Regions from separate parts of the Homo sapiens genome. Here regions 2, 3, 4, 5 and 6 are each linked to region 1. Evidence: promoter capture Hi-C in 16 types of primary human blood cells and fetal thymus (Javierre and others, 2016). All regions are on one chromosome and are shown on one strand. The core of a region is centred on a gene start or on the middle of the fragment in contact, and the rest is flanking DNA. Distances in the headings are between cores, read along the strand shown.

What was found. The method cuts DNA at HindIII sites, captures the fragments that hold promoters and counts their contacts. A CHiCAGO score of 5 or more calls a contact.
Region 2: a fragment that was not itself captured here is called in contact with the fragment with the promoter of KRABD5 in region 1 in 1 of 17 cell types (total CD4 T cells); the score reaches 5.4 in total CD4 T cells.
Region 3: a contact is called between a fragment that was not itself captured here and the fragment with the promoter of KRABD5 in region 1, in 3 of 17 cell types (fetal thymus, non-activated CD4 T cells and activated CD4 T cells). The highest score is 7.2, in fetal thymus.
Region 4: a fragment that was not itself captured here is called in contact with the fragment with the promoter of KRABD5 in region 1 in 2 of 17 cell types (fetal thymus and total CD8 T cells); the score reaches 6.6 in fetal thymus.
Region 5: a fragment that was not itself captured here is called in contact with the fragment with the promoter of KRABD5 in region 1 in 2 of 17 cell types (total B cells and naive CD8 T cells); the score reaches 5.1 in total B cells.
Region 6: a contact is called between a fragment that was not itself captured here and the fragment with the promoter of KRABD5 in region 1, in 3 of 17 cell types (fetal thymus, naive CD8 T cells and total CD4 T cells). The highest score is 7.0, in fetal thymus.

What each region holds. Positions count from the first base shown.
Region 1 is chr16:31,711,658-31,714,784 of GRCh38, forward strand. KRABD5 (KRAB domain containing 5) reads left to right here and starts at 1,587. Exons shown (of 5, transcript NM_001130913.2): 1 at 1,587-1,778. The coding sequence starts at 1,776. RefSeq lists enhancers at 1,754-1,873, 2,998-3,047 and a silencer at 1,964-2,023. The HindIII fragment of the contact is 15,701 bases long and covers 1-3,127 here.
Region 2 is chr16:30,939,246-30,942,372 of GRCh38, forward strand. FBXL19 (F-box and leucine rich repeat protein 19) reads left to right here. Exons shown (of 11, transcript NM_001382779.1): 8 at 2,871-3,034. Among named protein-coding and RNA genes, the nearest start is that of ORAI3, 8.3 kb to the right of the region's middle. RefSeq lists a silencer at 2,765-2,894. The HindIII fragment of the contact is 714 bases long and covers 1,191-1,904 here.
Region 3 is chr16:30,964,172-30,967,298 of GRCh38, forward strand. SETD1A (SET domain containing 1A, histone lysine methyltransferase) reads left to right here. Exons shown (of 19, transcript NM_014712.3): 6 at 1-152; 7 at 441-1,290; 8 at 1,430-2,215; 9 at 2,713-2,889. Among named protein-coding and RNA genes, the nearest start is that of SETD1A, 8.0 kb to the left of the region's middle. The HindIII fragment of the contact is 2,452 bases long and covers 25-2,476 here.
Region 4 is chr16:31,002,256-31,005,382 of GRCh38, forward strand. All of the region lies in intron 1 of STX1B (syntaxin 1B), which reads right to left. Among named protein-coding and RNA genes, the nearest start is that of STX1B, 6.8 kb to the right of the region's middle. The HindIII fragment of the contact is 2,126 bases long and covers 464-2,589 here.
Region 5 is chr16:31,039,252-31,042,378 of GRCh38, forward strand. STX4 (syntaxin 4) reads left to right here. Exons shown (of 11, transcript NM_004604.5): 9 at 290-400; 10 at 472-567; 11 at 661-913. The coding sequence ends at 552. Among named protein-coding and RNA genes, the nearest start is that of STX4, 7.3 kb to the left of the region's middle. The HindIII fragment of the contact is 8,081 bases long and covers 1-3,127 here.
Region 6 is chr16:31,070,265-31,073,391 of GRCh38, forward strand. The region is part of intron 1 of ZNF668 (zinc finger protein 668); the gene reads right to left. It also overlaps a transcript of ZNF646 not described here. Among named protein-coding and RNA genes, the nearest start is that of ZNF668, 2.4 kb to the right of the region's middle. RefSeq lists enhancers at 2,852-3,127, 2,944-3,127 and a silencer at 3,127. The HindIII fragment of the contact is 265 bases long and covers 1,542-1,806 here.

The DNA of each region.
Region 1 (3,127 bases), core at 337-2,836:
CACACAGCACCTTCTGCAGAGACTAGCTCTGAGGGTGGCAGGGGACCCCACAGGCCATGGCCACTCCCTCTCTGCACCTGTCCGTGCCTGCTGTGGAAGCCTGGACTGGGGGAGGAGATTGCTACCCTGTGAGCCTGAGGGAGCCACGTCCAGCTGTGACCTCTACCTGGGGCTTTACAGAGAGTTGTTTATGGGTAACAGACACCTTGTTTCAGAGGGAATGGGCATGAGCTGGCAAGTGAAGCACCCCCACAGCTTATCAGGAACTTTTTCTCATTTTTAAACCATCATGTCTTCATTTCACATTGGAATAAAGTGAGGTTTTGGAACCTGCTGCCCCAGTCTCTGGATTGTGAGGGCTGTTGTCAAACAGGTTACTAGGAGAGGAATATGTATAAATTAGCTCAAATTCAAGGTTATGCTTGTAATGTCACCTGAGTGGGAAGTAAGAGGGTGGAGTCACAGGCACTCAGCTGGGATTTACCTGGCCTCGTCACTAGACTAATGGGATTGTGGCACAGGTGAACATCCCGTCATTGGAGAAGAAAGGCTGGATTGAAGGCCAGGTGGGGGAGGGGTGCTAGGCTGTGGGGTCAGGCCCTGGGCATGCTGGACCTGTTAGGTCACTGAACATCTGACTGGGCACCTGCCCAGATTTGTCCCTTCAGTTGAGGTGGGATTGGCAGCACTCCCCAGAAGGCGTGCAGTGCCGGGAGAGTGGAGGAGGGTCTGACGTTTGCTATCCTGTGGTAGGTTTTAGAGCTAACTAGATGCTTGTGGAGAGCTAATGACATGGGAAGAAGGCAGCCCACCTTGATGGACCGGAGGGTTAGAGCCTGCGATGTGAGAAGCGGGTGTGTGGAGGTGGCCTGTCTACAAGAGGGCAAGTTTAAGGCCCATTGCAGTGGCACTATCTCAGCTCACTGCAGCTGGTGGCTGCCAGGCCATCCCTCTCCAGAGCAGGGAGGCCCTCAGCCTTATGTATAATTGAATGCCTTTTGGGATGCTTGGATAGTCCTTTATGTCTTGGAAATTCAGAAAAGAAAAAAAAAATTACAATCCTCCTGTCTGTTAGTTTCCCTGAGCCAACTGGATAAAAGATGTCCCTGACCCCAAGATTTTAAGTGACACCCAAGGGAAGCCACCGTTACCTTGGCTGTTGAAGCCTCCTGCATGCTCCCCAAAAACCCCAGCAGTTTCCTCTGCAGTCCCACAGTTATGTCCTGAGCAGTGGGGTACCGTGTGATGAGAGGTGCTAAGGATGGGATGAGGGTCTTTCCTGTGTTATTAGAACGGTTAAAAAGTTGTTTTAAAGGTGCCCAAATGCCCTCCTTCTTAAACTTAATTAGCTAATAAGATGCCTTATACAAGCAAAACCAGGTACGGGAAAGCAAGTGCATTTCAAGTCCAAGCTCACCCCTTAAATTAGCTGTAATACCCTCAGCAGGTGGCCCCACCTCAATGAGCCTGTCTCCCATTCAAAAAGCAGAACGAGTGAGAGGGCGGGGCCTGGAGCTTTACCCAATCAGTGGCGTCGGAGTGGAAATCCTCCAATCGGGAGTAGCCGGAGAGCAGGGGCGGCTTCCGGGATTTGGCGGTGGCCTTTGTTGGCTGCAGTAAGAGCTCAGTCTCTTCACCAGGGGCTCCCAGTCCTTCCATCTGGGAGGCCAAGGCGGCTTCGCGTTCTGAGAATAGACAGAACCTCTGTTACTCTGTGACCGGCAGGCACCGGGAGATCCGTAGCTCAGACGCCAGGACATCCCGGAAGCTGGGAAATGGTGAATGTGCCAGGTCGGGGGTCCCCAGAAGAGGGAGAGGGGCGGTCGGAAGCGGCGGGAACCCTCTTTGAGGTTAGCTTCGGGGTCTGGGCCCTGAGTCCCCGCGGACGCAACTCGGCCCTTGGTCCCCTCCGCCGCAAGATGGCGGCCGGGCCGGCAGCCGGGACCCCGCGCGTCCGGTCCCCTCCCGACCCCGCAGAGCGACCTCTGCCATGGCCGGAGCCGTCTTTGGGTCGCCGCAGCCCGGCGTCTCCCGAGATTGTGCGGTGAGAACGTGAGGGTCTTAGGGGAAATCCCGGGTCGGCGTGTGATTCGTGTGTGGGAAGATACTGTGCCCCGTGGTGTCCCAGTCTCCTTTTTCCTCTTACAAATTAAGGGGAGTCACCCTTAAAGCGTTAAAGGGTTGATTTAGGTAAACAGCGATTGGTGAAATGGGAAGCCTGCCGCCGTGGTTTGTGGTTTAGGGTCCTCTGGAGCAGCGATTTCAAAATCCCAGGGCTCAGCTTAGGAATGCTGCTGGGGAAAAGAAATAGGGACAATCTCTCTTCCACTTTGGCTGTAGAAAACGAATACATTTCCACAGAAAGTGTGCTAGATTAATTGGTCAATTACAAACATTCATTAAAATATCAGGTCCTCTCTTTTGCAGTGGAGGATTTGTGACAGTGGATATCTGTGTTCCATATTCTACTGCTATCTGGATGTCCGACTTTAATGCCAAATGTTATGAGACAGGACTTGGCACCTCCTAGAAGTGTTCACATATACTAAATGATCTGCTATTATGGAAATAATTAAATGACATGTTTCTTGCTCGAAAGAGGTATTTTGGCCTTACCTGTTGAAGTATAAAGTGTAAGTGCCTTACAGTTTCCTTCCTTTCTATAAAAACTGTTTTGAGTGATTTTGCTATTTTCCTGAAACCTGTTAGGTCACTGAACATCTGACTGGCTGGGCACCTGCTCCTGTCCCTTCAGTTGAGGTAGGATTGGCAGCACTCCCCAGAAGGCGTGCAGTGCCAGGAGAGTGGAGGAAGGTCTGACGTTTGCTATCCTGGGGTAGGTTTTAGAGCTCGCTAGATGCTTGTGGAGAGCTGATGAGATGGGAAGAAGGCACCCCACCTCGATGGACCTGAAAGAGAGAGCCTGCGAATTGAGAAGCGGGTGTGTGGAATAACCCTGACTAGGCATAGAAGACCTCAGTCTTATTTGAGCCTGCAAAAGGAGGTCATTGAAGGCCCAGTTAGTTCTTCCTGGGGAGCGCCCCCTTCAGGTGTCCCTGAGGTTCACAGCAGCCATGGAGGGAGCCCTTTGTTACTGGGAGAAGCTGCAGAGTTCTGGAAAGCAGGG
Region 2 (3,127 bases), core at 298-2,797, 770 kb before region 1:
TATTTTTAGTAGAGATGGGGTTTCACCGTGTTAGCCAGGATGGTCTCAATCTCCTGACCTCGTGATCTGTCCACCTTGGCCTCCCAAAGTGCTGGGATTACACCACACTTGGACTTTTGTGTTTATTTTTAAGATTAACATATTTATGTGAAACAATACTGGGGTTTTTTTTTTTGTTTTTTTTTTGAGACGGAGTCTCGCTCTGTCGCCCAGGCTGGAGTGCAGTGGCACGATCTCGGCTCACTGCAAGCTCCACCTCCCAGATTCACGCCATTCTCCTGCCTCAGCCTCCCGAGTATCTGGGACTACAGGCGCCCTCCACCACGCCCAGCTAATTTTTTGTATTTTTTTTTTAGTAGAGACGGGGTTTCACTGTGTTAGCCTGGATGGTCTTGATCTCCTGACCTAGTGATCCACCCACCTCGGCCTCCCAAAGTGCTGGGATTACACGCATGAGCCACCGCGCCCGGCAACAATACTGGTTTTAAGTGCAAAGAGGAGATGATTCAAAGATAAATCATGTTACGCAGATAAGTGAACAGCAAATACTGGAGCTTGGGAATCACTGCCCCAGCCCAGGGCTTCTACAAGGAAAAGCCTTTCAGAGTCATGAGGGCAGGGAGGGAGGCAAGAGAAAGCTTCCCTTGGGAGGCCAAGGGAAGGATCGCTTGAGCTCAGGAGTTCAAAACCAGCCTGGACAACCTTGTCTCTACTAAAAATAAAAAAATAGGCCAGGCACAGTGGCTCACGCCTGTAATCCCAGCACTATGGGAGGCCAAAGTGGGCAGATCACCTGAGGTCAGGATTTCGAGACCAGCCTGGCCAACATGGAGAAACCCTATCTCTACTAAAAATACAAAAAATTAGCCGGGCGTGGTGGCGCATGCCTGTAATCCCAGCTACTCTGGAGGCTGAGGCGGGAGAATCGCTTGAACTTGGGAGATGGTGGTTTCAGTGAGCCAAGATCACACCATTGCACTCCAGCCTGGGCAACAAGAGCGAAACTCTGTCTCAAAAAAAAAAAAAAAGTCAGGTGTGGTGGCATGTGCCTGTAGTCCCAGCTACTCAGGAGGCTGAGGTAGGAGGATGGCTTGAGCCCAGGAGTTTAAGGTTGCAGTGAGCTGTGATCGCAGTACTGCACCCCAGCCTGGGTGACTAAGCAAGACACTGTCTCAAGAAAAAAAAAAAAAAGCTTCCTGGGCCTGCTGCTTCTGACACAGTCTATTGAGTCTCAGAGGCATTTCTGGACATGCCTTTGAGAACTACTGAACTCAGAGAAGAGAGTTCTCAAACTGAGTCCAAAGGAACTTCAGTGTACTACAAAATGTTACTAGATTACCTTGGGAGAGGTGGGGAAGGATTCCTGGGGAAGTACGTTTGAGAGGCCCTTCTCCAGTTCACTGCATGTTTTTTGTTTGTTTGTTTGTTTGTTTGTTTTTGAGATGGAGTCTCTCACTGTTGCCCCAGCTGGTGTGCAGTGGTGCGATCTCGGCTCGCTGCAATCTCCGCCTCCCGGGTTCAAGTAATTCTCCTGCCTCAGCCTCCCGAGTAGCTAGGATTACAGGCGCCCGCCACCATGCCCAGCTAATTTTTTGTACTTTTAGTAGAGACAGGGTTTCACTAGTAGAACAGCCAGGCTGTTCTCGAATTCCTGACCTCATGATCCACCCACCTCGGCCTCCCAAAGTGCTGGGATTACAGGTGTGAGCCACTGCACCCAGCCCACTGCATGTTAGATAGTCTGTTGAGGCCTGTGGAGTGCTCGGGTTAGGAAACCTGTTTAATGTTGCTTAGGACTCGTTCATCTTTGTAGCTTCAATACTTGGGACCTATAACGCTTTCTATAATCAGAGTGAATAAATGAAATGCTGTAGATGAGGAGGTGGGGGAGAGTGGTCAGTGGAAGCTTTAAGTAGTTACTAGCTTGATTCATTCATTACAAATGGGCAGCTGGGTGCAGTAGCTCATGCCTGTAATCCCAGTGTTTTGGGAGGCCAAGGCAGGAGGATCGCTTGAGGCCAGGAGATCAAGACCAGCCTAGGCAACATAGTGAGACCCTGTCTCTACAAAAAAATTGTTTAAAAATTAGCCAGGCGTGGTGACATGTGCCTGTGGTCCCAGCTACTCAGGAGGCTGAGGTGGGAGGATTGCTTGAGCCCAGTAGGTTGAGGCTGCGGTGAGCCTGAGTCCAGCCTGGGTTACAGAGTGAGACCCTGTCTCAAAAAAAATTTTTTTTCAAAAAGTGGAAAACGCAAATCTGCCCTTGTGGAATTTACATTGTAGTTGGAGGAACACAGTAATGTAATAGGGAAGATATTAGGGCTGTAAGTCCAGCTGCGGGCAGCTGGCTGTCAAGATGGGACAGGTGTGGATCAGAAGCAGAGATGAGTAAAGGAGGCAAGGACCCATGAGCACCAGAACTCAGTCAGGAATCAAGAAGCCCAAGGGTGGCTGGAGACGACTGGATAACACCAGTCCCCTTGGCATGACATCAGGCAGCATGCGTGGCATTTGTGTATGTGTTGGGCAGCACACTTTCTATGCTGGGAGGCCCACAGCTGGGATGAGCCCATGTGACCTGACAGCTGCCCTGTGGGCAGGCAGAGTGGGGGGGCTATTGCCTTCAATCATAAACGAGGCTTCTGAGGCTCAGGGAGAGGAACAGACTTGCCCAGGGTCTCATTTCCAGTTAGTGATGGAGTTGGGTTCCAATCCCAGTGCTCTTGGCTGAGGTCAGGTGCTTCTTGCTACCCTGTTGTCTGTGTGGCCAGAAGAGAGCTGGGGTGCACCCTTGGAGCTGGGGAGCCTGGGAACTGTGGGCTGCTGAGAGCTGAGGGCTGAGGTCTCTGTCTCCCCCCTATGGCCGCCAGGTGCTATGACAAGCGTCTGTGGCCTCGAATGGACCTGAGCCGGCGGAAGTCACTGACCCCGCCCATGCTCAGTGGTGTGGTTCGCCGCCAGCCCCGTGCCCTGGACCTCAGCTGGACAGGTGTCTCCAAGAAGCAGCTCATGTGGCTTCTGAACCGACTACAAGGTAGGGTGTGTGGTACGGAGGACAGGGTGGGGACAGGGACAGGCCTGGGATGGAGTCCTCACAGCACCTGCTTCCTGACTGCCCCCTCTCCGC
Region 3 (3,127 bases), core at 1-2,500, 750 kb before region 1:
GGCACCCCCTGCTCCCAGGACACAAGCTTCTCCAGCAGCCGACAAGATACCCCATCTTCCTTTGGCCAGTTCACACCTCAGTCCTCCCAAGGAACCCCCTACACGTCTCGGGGCAGCACCCCCTACTCTCAGGACTCTGCCTACTCCAGCAGGTACAGAGCAGACCCCGCCTGGGGCCCCGCCCGCAAAGTCTGGGAGCTGCCACTGGGAAGAAGATGCCCAGAGTCTGTCTCCAAGAGGGAGTTGGAAATAATTTGTCCTAGTTTCTCTGTGGATTCAGTCAACAAATTGCTGTCCTCGGGGAACACACTAGCTAGGAACCCAACATATAGCTCTTCTTTTGGAGGGCAGCATAGAGGGGCTTTGGGCCCTGGGACCCAGTACGCTGTGGTTTGGTCATAGAGAGCTGAGTCCAGCTAACTCCCCTGCTTCTTCTCCAGCACCACTTCAACCTCCTTCAAGCCCCGGCGGTCAGAGAACAGCTACCAAGATGCCTTTTCCCGCCGCCACTTCTCTGCATCTTCAGCCTCCACAACCGCCTCCACGGCCATCGCCGCCACCACTGCAGCCACTGCCTCATCCTCCGCCTCTTCCTCCTCATTGTCCTCGTCCTCCTCGTCATCCTCTTCCTCCTCGTCCTCTCAGTTTCGTAGTTCTGATGCAAACTACCCAGCGTATTATGAAAGCTGGAATCGCTACCAGCGCCATACTTCCTACCCACCACGCCGGGCCACACGGGAGGAACCCCCTGGAGCCCCTTTTGCTGAAAATACAGCTGAGCGCTTCCCACCTTCTTACACCTCCTACCTGCCCCCCGAGCCCAGCCGGCCCACCGACCAGGACTACCGGCCTCCTGCCTCAGAGGCTCCACCCCCGGAGCCTCCAGAACCTGGTGGAGGCGGGGGTGGAGGAGGGCCCAGCCCTGAGAGAGAAGAAGTTCGGACTTCCCCCCGCCCAGCCTCCCCTGCCCGCTCTGGCTCCCCAGCCCCGGAGACCACCAATGAGAGTGTGCCCTTCGCCCAGCACAGCAGCCTGGATTCCCGCATCGAGATGCTGCTGAAGGAGCAGCGCTCCAAGTTTTCCTTCTTGGCCTCTGACACAGAGGAGGAGGAAGAGAACAGCAGCATGGTCCTTGGGGCCAGAGATACAGGGAGTGAGGTGCCTTCTGGGTCAGGGCATGGGCCCTGCACACCCCCTCCGGCCCCAGCTAATTTTGAGGATGTGGCACCTACAGGGAGCGGGGAGCCAGGGGCTACCCGGGAGTCTCCCAAGGCAAATGGACAGAACCAGGTGAGGTTGGGGTCAGCCAGAGGAGGCACCTGGGCTCTGGGAGTCAGGGTTGGGCCTAGGGGAGAGGGAAGGGAACCAGATGAGAAAGTAGGGCTTGGGTCAGGCAGAAGCCTTCTGTGACCCTCTTCTGCCCCCGCAGGCTTCTCCATGCTCTTCTGGAGACGACATGGAGATCTCCGACGACGACCGGGGTGGCTCACCCCCTCCGGCCCCGACGCCCCCTCAGCAGCCTCCGCCACCTCCCCCTCCCCCGCCGCCTCCTCCTCCCTACCTGGCGTCCCTTCCTCTTGGTTATCCTCCCCACCAACCTGCCTACCTCCTCCCACCCAGACCTGATGGGCCGCCGCCCCCTGAGTACCCCCCACCTCCTCCACCACCCCCGCACATCTATGACTTTGTGAACTCCTTGGAGCTCATGGACCGACTTGGGGCTCAGTGGGGAGGGATGCCCATGTCCTTCCAGATGCAGACCCAGATGTTAACTCGGCTCCATCAGCTGCGGCAGGGCAAGGGATTGATTGCCGCCTCAGCTGGCCCCCCCGGTGGGGCCTTTGGGGAGGCCTTCCTCCCGTTTCCACCCCCGCAGGAGGCAGCCTACGGCTTGCCGTATGCTCTATATGCACAGGGGCAGGAGGGCAGAGGGGCATACTCACGGGAGGCCTACCACCTGCCCATGCCAATGGCAGCCGAGCCCCTGCCCTCCTCCTCAGTCTCGGGAGAGGAGGCCCGGCTGCCACCCAGGGAAGAAGCAGAGCTGGCAGAGGGCAAGACCCTCCCGACAGCAGGCACCGTGGGCCGTGTGCTCGCCATGCTGGTCCAGGAGATGAAGAGCATCATGCAGCGAGACCTCAACCGCAAGATGGTGGAGAACGTGGCCTTCGGAGCCTTTGACCAGTGGTGGGAGAGCAAGGAGGAGAAGGCCAAGGTGAGGCCAGCGCCTGGGACCGGGGAGCCCTGGGCTTTGCAGGAGGAAATGGGCCTCTGGCTCCTCCAGGCTGCACAGCTCAGAGGAGACAGGTGATGGAGGCGAGTGGAGAGAGGCCGCAGGCCCTGCAGGCCACCCTGGGTGGGCAGGGGAGTTGAGGGGACAGAGAAGCAGGCACAGATGGGCCTGGGAGGCAGCAGAGCTTTGTCCTGGCTCCATTCCTTGCTGGCTTGCAGTGGACAAGGCCCTTAGCTCTCTTCAAGCTTTGGTCTTCCATTTTGCCACTTGTGAAGTGGGAATGGTGGCTATTTCTTAAGACTGGTGGGCGAAATGACAGACTTTTGAGAAAATGCCGTGCGGGGGCTGGGACAGGTGTGACCAAGATATGGAGCAGCAAGTAGATGCGTTCTGTATTCCTGGGGTCCGGGAGTAGGTCTCAGGCAGGAGGGAATGCCTGGGTTCTGGGCGCTGGGGCTCAGCCCCACTGCTGCCTGCAGCCATTCCAGAACGCGGCCAAGCAGCAAGCCAAGGAGGAGGATAAAGAGAAGACGAAGCTGAAGGAGCCTGGCCTGCTGTCCCTCGTGGACTGGGCCAAGAGCGGGGGCACTACGGGCATCGAGGCTTTCGCCTTTGGGTCAGGGCTGAGAGGGGCCCTGCGGCTGCCTTCATTCAAGGTACTCAGAACTGTCGTTTTGTGGGGTAGGGTGGGGAGAGGGAGAGGGGGCCCCCTTCCTTGGGGTAGGGGTGGTCAGGAACCATGAGTGTTTGAGTTTTTTCTTTTTTTTGAGATGGAGTCTTACTCTGTTGCCCAGGCTGGAGTGCAGTGGCCTGATCTCAGCTCACTGCAACCTCCGCCTCCCGGGTTCAAGCGATTCTCCTGCCTCAGCCTCCCGAGTAGCTGGGGTTACAGGC
Region 4 (3,127 bases), core at 277-2,776, 710 kb before region 1:
TCACACCCACCTACTCTTGCTGGCTTGGATTTCCCAGTTGCAACCTGCAGCTGCTCAACCCTCCACCCGCAGGGCTCAGAGACACAAAGAGATTTACCCACCCACAGCACCACTGCCACCGACAGACAGACTCGAGACACAGACAGAAGAGCTGACACCCAAGGCACACAGGAATAGGCCCCCCCGACACCCACACGGAGATGCACTGATGCTGGCGTTCACCCGCACGCAGACTCACAGCTGAGCCGCACTGACATGTGTGGACACACTGGCTTTCAGCTGCACCCCTGAGGACATTTGGGAGGGCTCACTGGGCTTGTTCTTCCAGCTTCTCCGAGCCTCATGTCTGCACACACACTCAGAGCTGGACAGGAGAGGCTGTAGGGGAGGTGCCCTGTGCTACACACACCTGAGTCCTTCTCTGCTTGGGACAGAGGTCTGACAGCAAAATCTGAGTCCATCAAGCTTAATGACATCTGGAGCCCTGATCAGCCCCAGTGGAAATGTATACAGAGTTCATTCTGATTTCCAAAAAGAACCCAGCCAGAGCTCAGACAGAATCCAAACCCCAGAGGCTGGGTGAAATCAAGACAGGATCCAAACAGCATCCACCTGGGGGTGTACTCAGTTGGAATCCAAAAAGAAGAGCTTGCCAGGGTCCCAGCGGAACGCAGACAGGGCCTAACAGAAACCAGACAGGCTCAGACTGAACTAGCCGAGGCTCACACGGATCCCAGACAGATCCCAGACAGCTCAGATTGAACCTAGACAGGGCCAGATGGGACCTAGGTGCAGTCCACACAGCCAAAACTCAGGATCAGCAGTGCCCCACAGCCCCAGGAAAAGCCAGCACAGCCTGGGGGGCCTCCAGCTCCACGCTCCTGAGCCACCCCAGCCTCCCTGCTAAGCCCAGCCCAAATGGAACTCCAGGGAGTCTTCACACAGACGCTGGGCCCACACTGTGTCGGAAAATGTGTTCAGCACTTGTGTTGAATTTCCAGACAATCCCAACCATCCGCCTGGAAAGGGAGTTTCCTCTGTCTTGGCTCACAGCTGCCCCCAGAAAGTGGGGCGGCACAGGTGGCATAAGTTGGGGACCCTGAGAGGCTCTGGGATGCTGGGCTCACCTCTGAGGACCCATCGGCCTACCATGATGCTCTTCACTTTCTCTGTCCTCAAAATCCAGCTGTGCTACAAGGCCTCCTTCCCCTAGAGCCAAAAGCCTTCCTCTGCCCTTTCTCTCCCTTCAACCACTCACTCAGCCACCAGCCTCACGCAGGTCATGCGGCCTCTCCCTGGCCCGGGTGCCTGAGGACTTTCCTGTTCTCTGTGTCTCTCCCTTCCCCATGCTAATGTTAGGAAGTCTTTCCTAAAATCTAATTTCAATCTCTCCTGTTGTTCTTGGAGCCACCTCCCTTAGGTTCATCTCTGGAGCACCCTGGGCTACCTATTTGTTTGCCCTCAAGACAGGAAGAATGATAGAAGGCCCAAGTGTGGTTTATTTGGTATAATAAATACAAAGAGAGCTGGGAGCTAATAATCCTCTACCATTTACAAACACTTTTACATCCATAATCCGTTTTGATCCTCAGCACCACCAGCCCTGAGAGAAAAGCTGCATAAACATCATCGTCCCCATTTCACAGATGAGGGAACAGGAAGCCAGGGGGGTAAAAGGAGAGTGACTTGCCCAAGGGCACCCAGGCCACATAGGGCCAGAAAACCATGGGCATCCAGCCCCTCAAAGACCGCTGTTAGGCTCCAGACTGGGCTACCTCCCCCACTGACTTTCCGCTCCCAGTTACTTTCCCTCTCAGTGAGCGCCTGCTAAGTCCCAATCTGGGGAAGGCTCTGTGTCCGGACAACCTAGCAAAACAAGAGCACTTGATGGTATTTTTTGCGTAAGTCTTACATTCTTGTTATCTCATTTAATCTTCATTAGGACTCTGTAAGGACCATTGGCCAACATAATTATACTTATGCAAATATTTAGATGATGTTTTACAATGTGCCAGGCACTGTTCTATGTGCTCCACATATATCTATCCATTTCATTCTTACAACAGTCCCCTTGGAGGTATTATTATAGCCCCCTTTTATAGATGGGGAAACTGAGGCATAGAGCTAAATAACTCAGGCCAGTTGTAGTGGCTCACGCCTGTAATCCCAGCACTTTGGGAGGCTCTGGTGGGAGGATCACTTGAACCCAGGAGTTCAAGACCAGCCTGGGCAACATAGCAAGATCATGTCTCTACAAAAAATACAAAAATTAGCTGGGCATGGTGGTGCGCACCTGTAGTCTCAGCTACTTGGGAGGGTGAGGTAGGAGGATCCCCGGAGCTCAGGAGGTCAAGAGACTGCAGTGAGCTGTGATTGTGCCACTGCACTCCAGCCTGGGTGACAGAGCAAGACCCCGTTTCTTAAAAAAAAAAAAAAAAGAACTTGCCCCAGGTCAGCTGTTAGAAGACCATTTGGCTCTACCCCTGAGCCTAGTCTCTGCATTTGCTGAGTGGTAACAATGCCTACCACCGGCTGATTCCATGTTACAGACAAGGAAACAGGCTCAGAGAGGTTGCCTGACCTGCCTAAAGCTTCACAGCAAATGAGGCCAGAGGTAGGACCTGAACCCAGGACTGTCTGGCACTAAATGTCAGGCTCTCTCCCTTCTGTCCTGCTGACAGATGGCAGTCCCTCCTGGTCCTAAAAAGCCCACTCTGCCATGTCCTCAGGACTGCTGAACTCCTGCAGCCAGGACAGAAAATCAGTAGGAGGGGCCCAGGGCTGCAGGAAGAGCTTGGACAGGAGGCCATCCCTCCCAGCCTCCGTCTGTCTTGCTGTGTGACCCCAGGCAAACTTAGACTCCTCCCTGGGCCCCAGTTCCCTCATCACTGAAATGAGCAGACTGGTGCAAGTGCCCACCCTGCTCTGAAGGGCCCTCCGTGCTCTGAGTGATGCATATTTAGTAATGAGTACAGCATCCATTTCTGGAAGAAGTTAGGCCAGCCAAAAAGAAAGCAGGCTGTGGGCAAACCAGACTACCTAGGAAAAGATGATCAAATGTGCCCCAGTCTACTTTATGGTGGCCTCAGGTTACAGGTGAACGATTCAAGCCTCAGTTGCCTCATGT
Region 5 (3,127 bases), core at 270-2,769, 670 kb before region 1:
GAAGGCACAGTTCACCATCTGTGAAAGGTATGAGCCATTTGAGGCCCTTAGCTCCAAGCTACCACTGCAGATAGAGGTTGTATGGGATAAGTGAGCAGGGGACAAGGGACTACATGATAGAAGGGGCCTGGAAGCCATCCCCAAGGAGTCTGAACTTTTGTCAGATCAAGTCTTGCCCTTGTCTTTGTTAGTGCAATTTTTTTTTCCTGCCAGGAATGTTCTTCAGTCATCTGGGGTGGGGTGGGCAAAGGCATCCTTACCTCCCTGAACCACCCCATCCTCTGAGCAGGGGGAGATGATCAATCGGATTGAGAAGAACATCCTGAGCTCAGCGGACTACGTGGAACGTGGGCAGGAGCACGTCAAGACGGCCCTGGAGAACCAGAAGAAGGCGAGGAAGGTGAGCCTCCCAGGCCCGGCCACTGCCCCAGGCACCCTGTGTGACTTCCCTGACCCCCTCCTCTCCCACAGAAGAAAGTCTTGATTGCCATCTGTGTGTCCATCACCGTCGTCCTCCTAGCAGTCATCATTGGCGTCACAGTGGTTGGATAATGTCGCACATTGTTGGTGAGATGTTGTGGGCTGCCCCCTGGCCTGCCCCAGCCCTGGCCCCAGCCCTCCCTCCTCCCTCAGACCCTGTTCTCCCTCCTTTCCTTACAGGCACTAGGAGCACCAGGAACCCAGGGCCTGGCCTTCTCTCCCAGCAGCCTGGGGGGCAGGGCAGAGCCTCCAGTCGGACCCCTTCCTCACACTGGCCCCTATGCAGAAGGGCAGACAGTTCTTCTGGGGTTGGCAGCTGCTCATTCATGATGGCCTCCTCCTTCAGGCCTCAATGCCTGGGGGAGGCCTGCACTGTCCTGATTGGCCGGGACACACGGTTTTGTAAAAAATTAAAAAACAAAAAAAGAGCATAGAAAGCCCTGTGCACGTGTGTTCCTGGAAGGGCTGGCCCAAGGCTTCCGGGCATCCAACCTCCTTACCTCCTGGACGTCCCCAGGGCCAGGTCTGGCCCTGGCTGCTCAGGTCAAACTGCCAGGGGTGCTGTGCCCACAGCAGGCTGGTTCTGCCTTTCTGCACCCCCATAGGAATGGGTGGGCAGGGAGGGGTAACACCGGCATCTAGCTCCTGGCTCAGTACTGTCCCCGGGAAAGGACCACTGTGAGTATCTGTCTTGGAAATGATGAGGCTGACCAGGCCAGGCTGGGACGCAGGTGAGATGGGGGTTTGGGTGGCATCAGTGGGCCTTCTTGTGGCCCAGAGGAAGAGGCACCATGAAAAAATGCCTAATTGAGGCTGTCACTTTGGATGCAGTGGATAGGGATGGTCTGGTTTCAGCAGGGATGACATTGGAGTGGGATGTTAAGCTGGGGAAGAGGTTGCCAGTCAGAAAGCACAGGAGGCCGGGCCCTGTGACCAACAAAAGCATCATCTTTTACATAAGCGTTTAGGCAGGGTGTGGTGGCTCGCACCAGTAATCCCAGCACTTTGGGAGGCCCAGGCAGGAGGATCTCTTGAGCCCAGGAGCTTGAGACCAGCCTAGGCAGGATGGGGCAACCTCTTCTCTTTAGAGAATAATAATTTTACAAATTAGCCAGGCGTGATGGCAAGTGTCTGTCGTCCCAGCTACTCCAGAGGCTGAGGTGGGAGGATCGCTTGAGCCCAGGAGATTAAGGCTGCAGTGAGCCATGGTCATCCCACTGCACTCCATCCTGGGTGACAGAGCGAGACCCTGTCTCAAAAATAATAGCAATCATCATCAGTAGCAGCAGCAGCAGCAGCAGCAGCATAGAGAGCCAGTGATCCTGGATCAGTGCACCTGGTTGCTGAGGGTTACCTGGCTGAAGCAGGTGGTGGCAGCAGAAAAGCCTGACCTCTGATTTCTTCCATAAGGTACCTGAAATCCAAGCCCTGACTAAATTTCTTTTTTTCTTTTTTTTTGAGACAGAGTCTTGTTCTTTTGCCCAGGCTGGAGTGCAGTGGCACTATCTCAGCTCACTGCAAGCTCCGTCTCCCAGGTTCACGCCATTCTCCTGCCTCAGCCTCCCGAGTAGCTGGGACTGCAGGCACCCGCCACCACACCCGGCTAATTTTTTGTATTTTTAGTAGAGACGGGGTTTCACCGTGTTAGGATGGTCTCGATCTACTGACATCGTGATCTGCCCTCCTCGGCCTCCCAAAGTGTTGGGATTACAGGCGTGAGCCACCGCCTAAATTTCTAAGGGCTCCTAGTCCTGATGCCTAATTTCTGGAGTGGACGTGGCTCCTGTTCCCCGACACCTAGAGTTTTTGTTTGTTTGTTTGTTTGTTTTGAGACAGAGTCTCGCTCTGTCGCCCAGCCTGGGGTGCAGTGGCGCAATCTCGGCTCACTGCAAGCTCCGCCTCCCGGGTTCACGCCATTCTCCTGCCTCAGCCTCCAGAGTAGCTGGGACTACAGGCGCCCGCCACCATGCCCGGCTAATTTTTTTTTTTTTTTTGAGACGGAGTCTTGCTCTATCGCCCAGACTGGAGTGCAGTGGTGCGATCTCCGCTCACTGCAAACTTCGCCTCCCGGGTTCACGCCATTCTCCTGCCTCAGGCTCCTGAGTAGCTGGGACTACAGGCACCCGCCACCGCGCCCGGCTAATTTTTTGTATTTTTAGTAGAGACGGGGTTTCATCGTGTTAGCCAGGATGGTCTCGATCTCCTGACCTCGTGATCCGCCCGCCTCAGCTTCCCAAAGTGCTGGGATTACAGGCATGAGCCACCGCGCCCGGCCCCCGACACCTAGTTTTAAAGGGTAAGCCGGCTCCTGGCACCTGCCTACTTGCAGTAGGGCGGCGCCTAGCTCTGACCTCCAAGGTCTGGGGACTGCGTCGCAGCCGCCCAGTCCATCCCACTTTCAATCTTACAGGCCCCTGCTGTTGCTGCCGCTGCCGCCGCTCCCAGCTGCCCAGTCTGGCGGGCTCAGTCCCGCGTTGCCATGTGTGGGAGACCGCGTCGCGTAAGCGCTGGATGTGGCTTCGCTGATGCACATTGGACCGGGCTCTGGACTGGGCTAGGGGAAGGGCAGGAGGGCGGAATTGGGCCCGAGGGCCAGGCCTCGCCGACCCCCGACTGCGCCTCCCGGTGGCCCCGCAGCGCCTCCCGG
Region 6 (3,127 bases), core at 424-2,923, 640 kb before region 1:
TGGCACAATATCTGCTCACTGCAACCTCCGCCTCCCGGGTTCAAGCGGTTCTCCTGCCTCAGCTTCCCGAGTAGCTGGAATTATAGGCGCCCGCCACTACATCTGGCTCATTTTTGTATTTTTAGTAGAGAGAGGATTTCACCATGTTGGCCAGGCTGGTCTTGAACTCCTGACCTCAAGTGATCCACCCACCTTGGCTTCCCAAAGTGCTTGGATTACAGGCATGAGCCACCGCACCCAGCCCTCTTTACTTTTTAAAAAATGTTTTTATTTTTATTTATATATTTATTTTTGAGACAGAGTTTCACTCTTGTTGCCAAGGCTGGAGTGCAATGGCACCATCTCTGCTCACTCCAACCTCCGCCTCCCCGGTTCACGAGATTTTCCTGCCTCAGCCTCCCGAGTAGCTGGAATTACAGGCATCCACCACCACGCCTGGTTAATTTTTTGTATTTTTAGTAGAGATGGAGTTTCACCATGTTGGCCAGGCTGGTCTCGAACTCCTGACCTCAGATGATCCACTGCCTCGGCTTCCCAGAGTGCTGGGATTACAGGCATGAGCCACCGTGCCTGGCTTATTTTTATTTATTTTATTATTTATTGTTATTATTATTTGAGACAGAGTCTCCCTCTGTTGCCCAGGCTGGAGTGCAATGGTGTGATGTCAGTTCACTGCGACCTCTGCCTCCTGGGTTCAAGCAATTCTTCTGCCTCAGCCTCCCAAGTATTTGGGATTACAGGTGCCTGCCACCACAGCCAGCTAATTTTTTGTATTTTTAGTAGAGATGGCCATGTTGGCTAGGCTGGTCTGGAACTCCTGACCTCAGGTGATCCACCCACCTTGGCCTCCCAAAGTGCTGGGATTACAGGCTTGAGCCACCATGCCCGGCCTATTTATTTCATTTTTATTTATTTATTTTCTTTGAGAGAAAGTCTTTGTTGCCCAGGCTGGAGTGCAGTGGCTGCATCTCAGCTCACTGCAGCCTCCACCTCCCGGATTCAAGTGATTCTCCAGCCTCAGCCTCCCGAGTAGCTGGGACTACAGGCGAAAGCCATCACACCTGGCAAACTTTTGTATTTTTAGTAGAGACAGGGTTTCACCACATTGGCCACGCTGGTCTCGAACTCCTGACCTCAAGTGATCCGACCGCCTCAGCCTCCCAAAGTGCTGGGATTACAGGCGTGAGCCACCGTGCCTGGCCTTTATTTTTATTTAGAGATTGGGTCTCACTCTGTCACCCTGGAGTGCAGTGGCTCAATCATAGCTCACTTCAGCCTCAAACTCCTGCACTCAAGCAATCCTCCTGAGTAGCTAGGACTATAGGCACCCACCACCACACCTCGCTAATTTATTAAAAATTCTTTGTATATAGAGATGGAGGTCTCACTACGCTGCCGACAGTGGTCTCAAGAACTCCTGGCTTCAGATGCTCCTCCACTATGGCTTCCTAAAGTGCTGTGATTACAGGCATGAGCCACAGTGACCAGCACCCCTCCTCTCTAATTTCCTTTATGGTGTCATCTGGACAATACTCCTTGCAAGCTTACCATGGGCAAGGTATCATTCTAAGCATTTTGTGCATAATACTCAACTACTCAAGCCAACTGCACAGCTGCCTAGCAGTTCATTATGAGTGAATGTTTGTGTTCCCTGTCCATTCATATATTGAAATTCTAACTCTCATTGTGACTGTATTTGGAGACAAGGCCTTTATGGAAGTAATTAAGGCTGAATGACGTCATAAGGGTATGGCCCTGGTCCAGTAGGATTAGCGTTCTTATGAGAAGTGACACCACAAAGAAACAAGCTTACTAGTCACGGTCCCAGCCAGTGTTCAAATCCCAAACACCTGCTCTCTGAGCCCTGACTATTGCTTTGCTAGCATTACACATCTTATGGTTTGGCTGTTAATTCTTCATCACCAGCACCAGAGTCCAGGCTGGCAAAGGGCTAGGAAACCGATCATCTGCCTCCTCTACACCCAGAACCCTGTGTGGTGACCCAAAACAAATGGAAAGAACCAACCTCAGATGAAATTTGAACCCAGGTCTGTAGCCTCTGCCTCCTCCACAGTAGGAGTTTGTGAGAATGTCCACCAATAACTGTTTATTAACTAAATTCCTCCACCTTTCCAACTCCACAAGGCTCAACTATTGCCCCAATATCCCACAGTGGGCTCCCTGTCGTGGCGATGAAGCCTTGCTTTGCCTCACTACTGGCTTAGGAAGGGGATGAAGTTCTGCTGTCTCACTAGGCAAGCAAAGATTCAATTTCCAAAAATCCTAGGCTAGGACCCTGGGGCAGGGATGAGGAGAAAAAGGAGGCACCTCAATCTTCCCATCTCTAAACAAGCAGTCACCACACAGGCCTCACGGCCAGGAGTGACGTAGTGAGCGGATGAACCCTGCAGAAGTGAGCGCTAATCATATCCTAGGCCTCCTACCGGGCCAGTTCACAACCTGATCCCAACCTACTTTTCCAGCCTCAGCTCCAGCGACAGAGTCCTCCTCCCGGCAGCGACCGAACCTCCAGCCACAATTCTCAATCCTCCACCTCTAGATGCAGTTTCCTGGGCTCGGGGAGCCCTTGCCTGCCTTCTCCAACGGGAAAGCCCCTTTACATCCTTCAAGAACCCCCTTCCCTAGTGCCCTCAGGAATACTTTATGGCAGTAGAGAGGTAAGGGCCCCACGCCGCTCTGGACCTCAGTTTCCTCATCAGTAAAATGGGGTCCCTTAAGTTTGTGGGAGTTTGAAGGGCGGTGGGGCCTACGAAGCGCGCCGAGGAGCCGAGAGTTGCAGAAACCCGGAGCTCCTCGCTCCTCGCAACCGTCTGTACGCGGCGCCCCCGCCAGCCAGGCAGCCCCTGGAGGGCAGGACCCCGGTTATAAGCCTCAGAAAACGTGGCTTCGGAGGACGTGGCAAGGAGGACTGAACGAAGGATGAGGAGATGAACAAATGAATGGACGGAAGGCCGAATGAGGGACAAAGGCTTGCAAGATGGCGTTCTCTAGGACCGCGGGAGTGGTGGCCGGGCCTCAGCAGGGGAGGGGGCCGCCGGCGCCTGGGATCTTGCAGCGCGGGCCACGCGACCGGGACAAAAACCCAAAACATGGCGGGCTCTAGGAC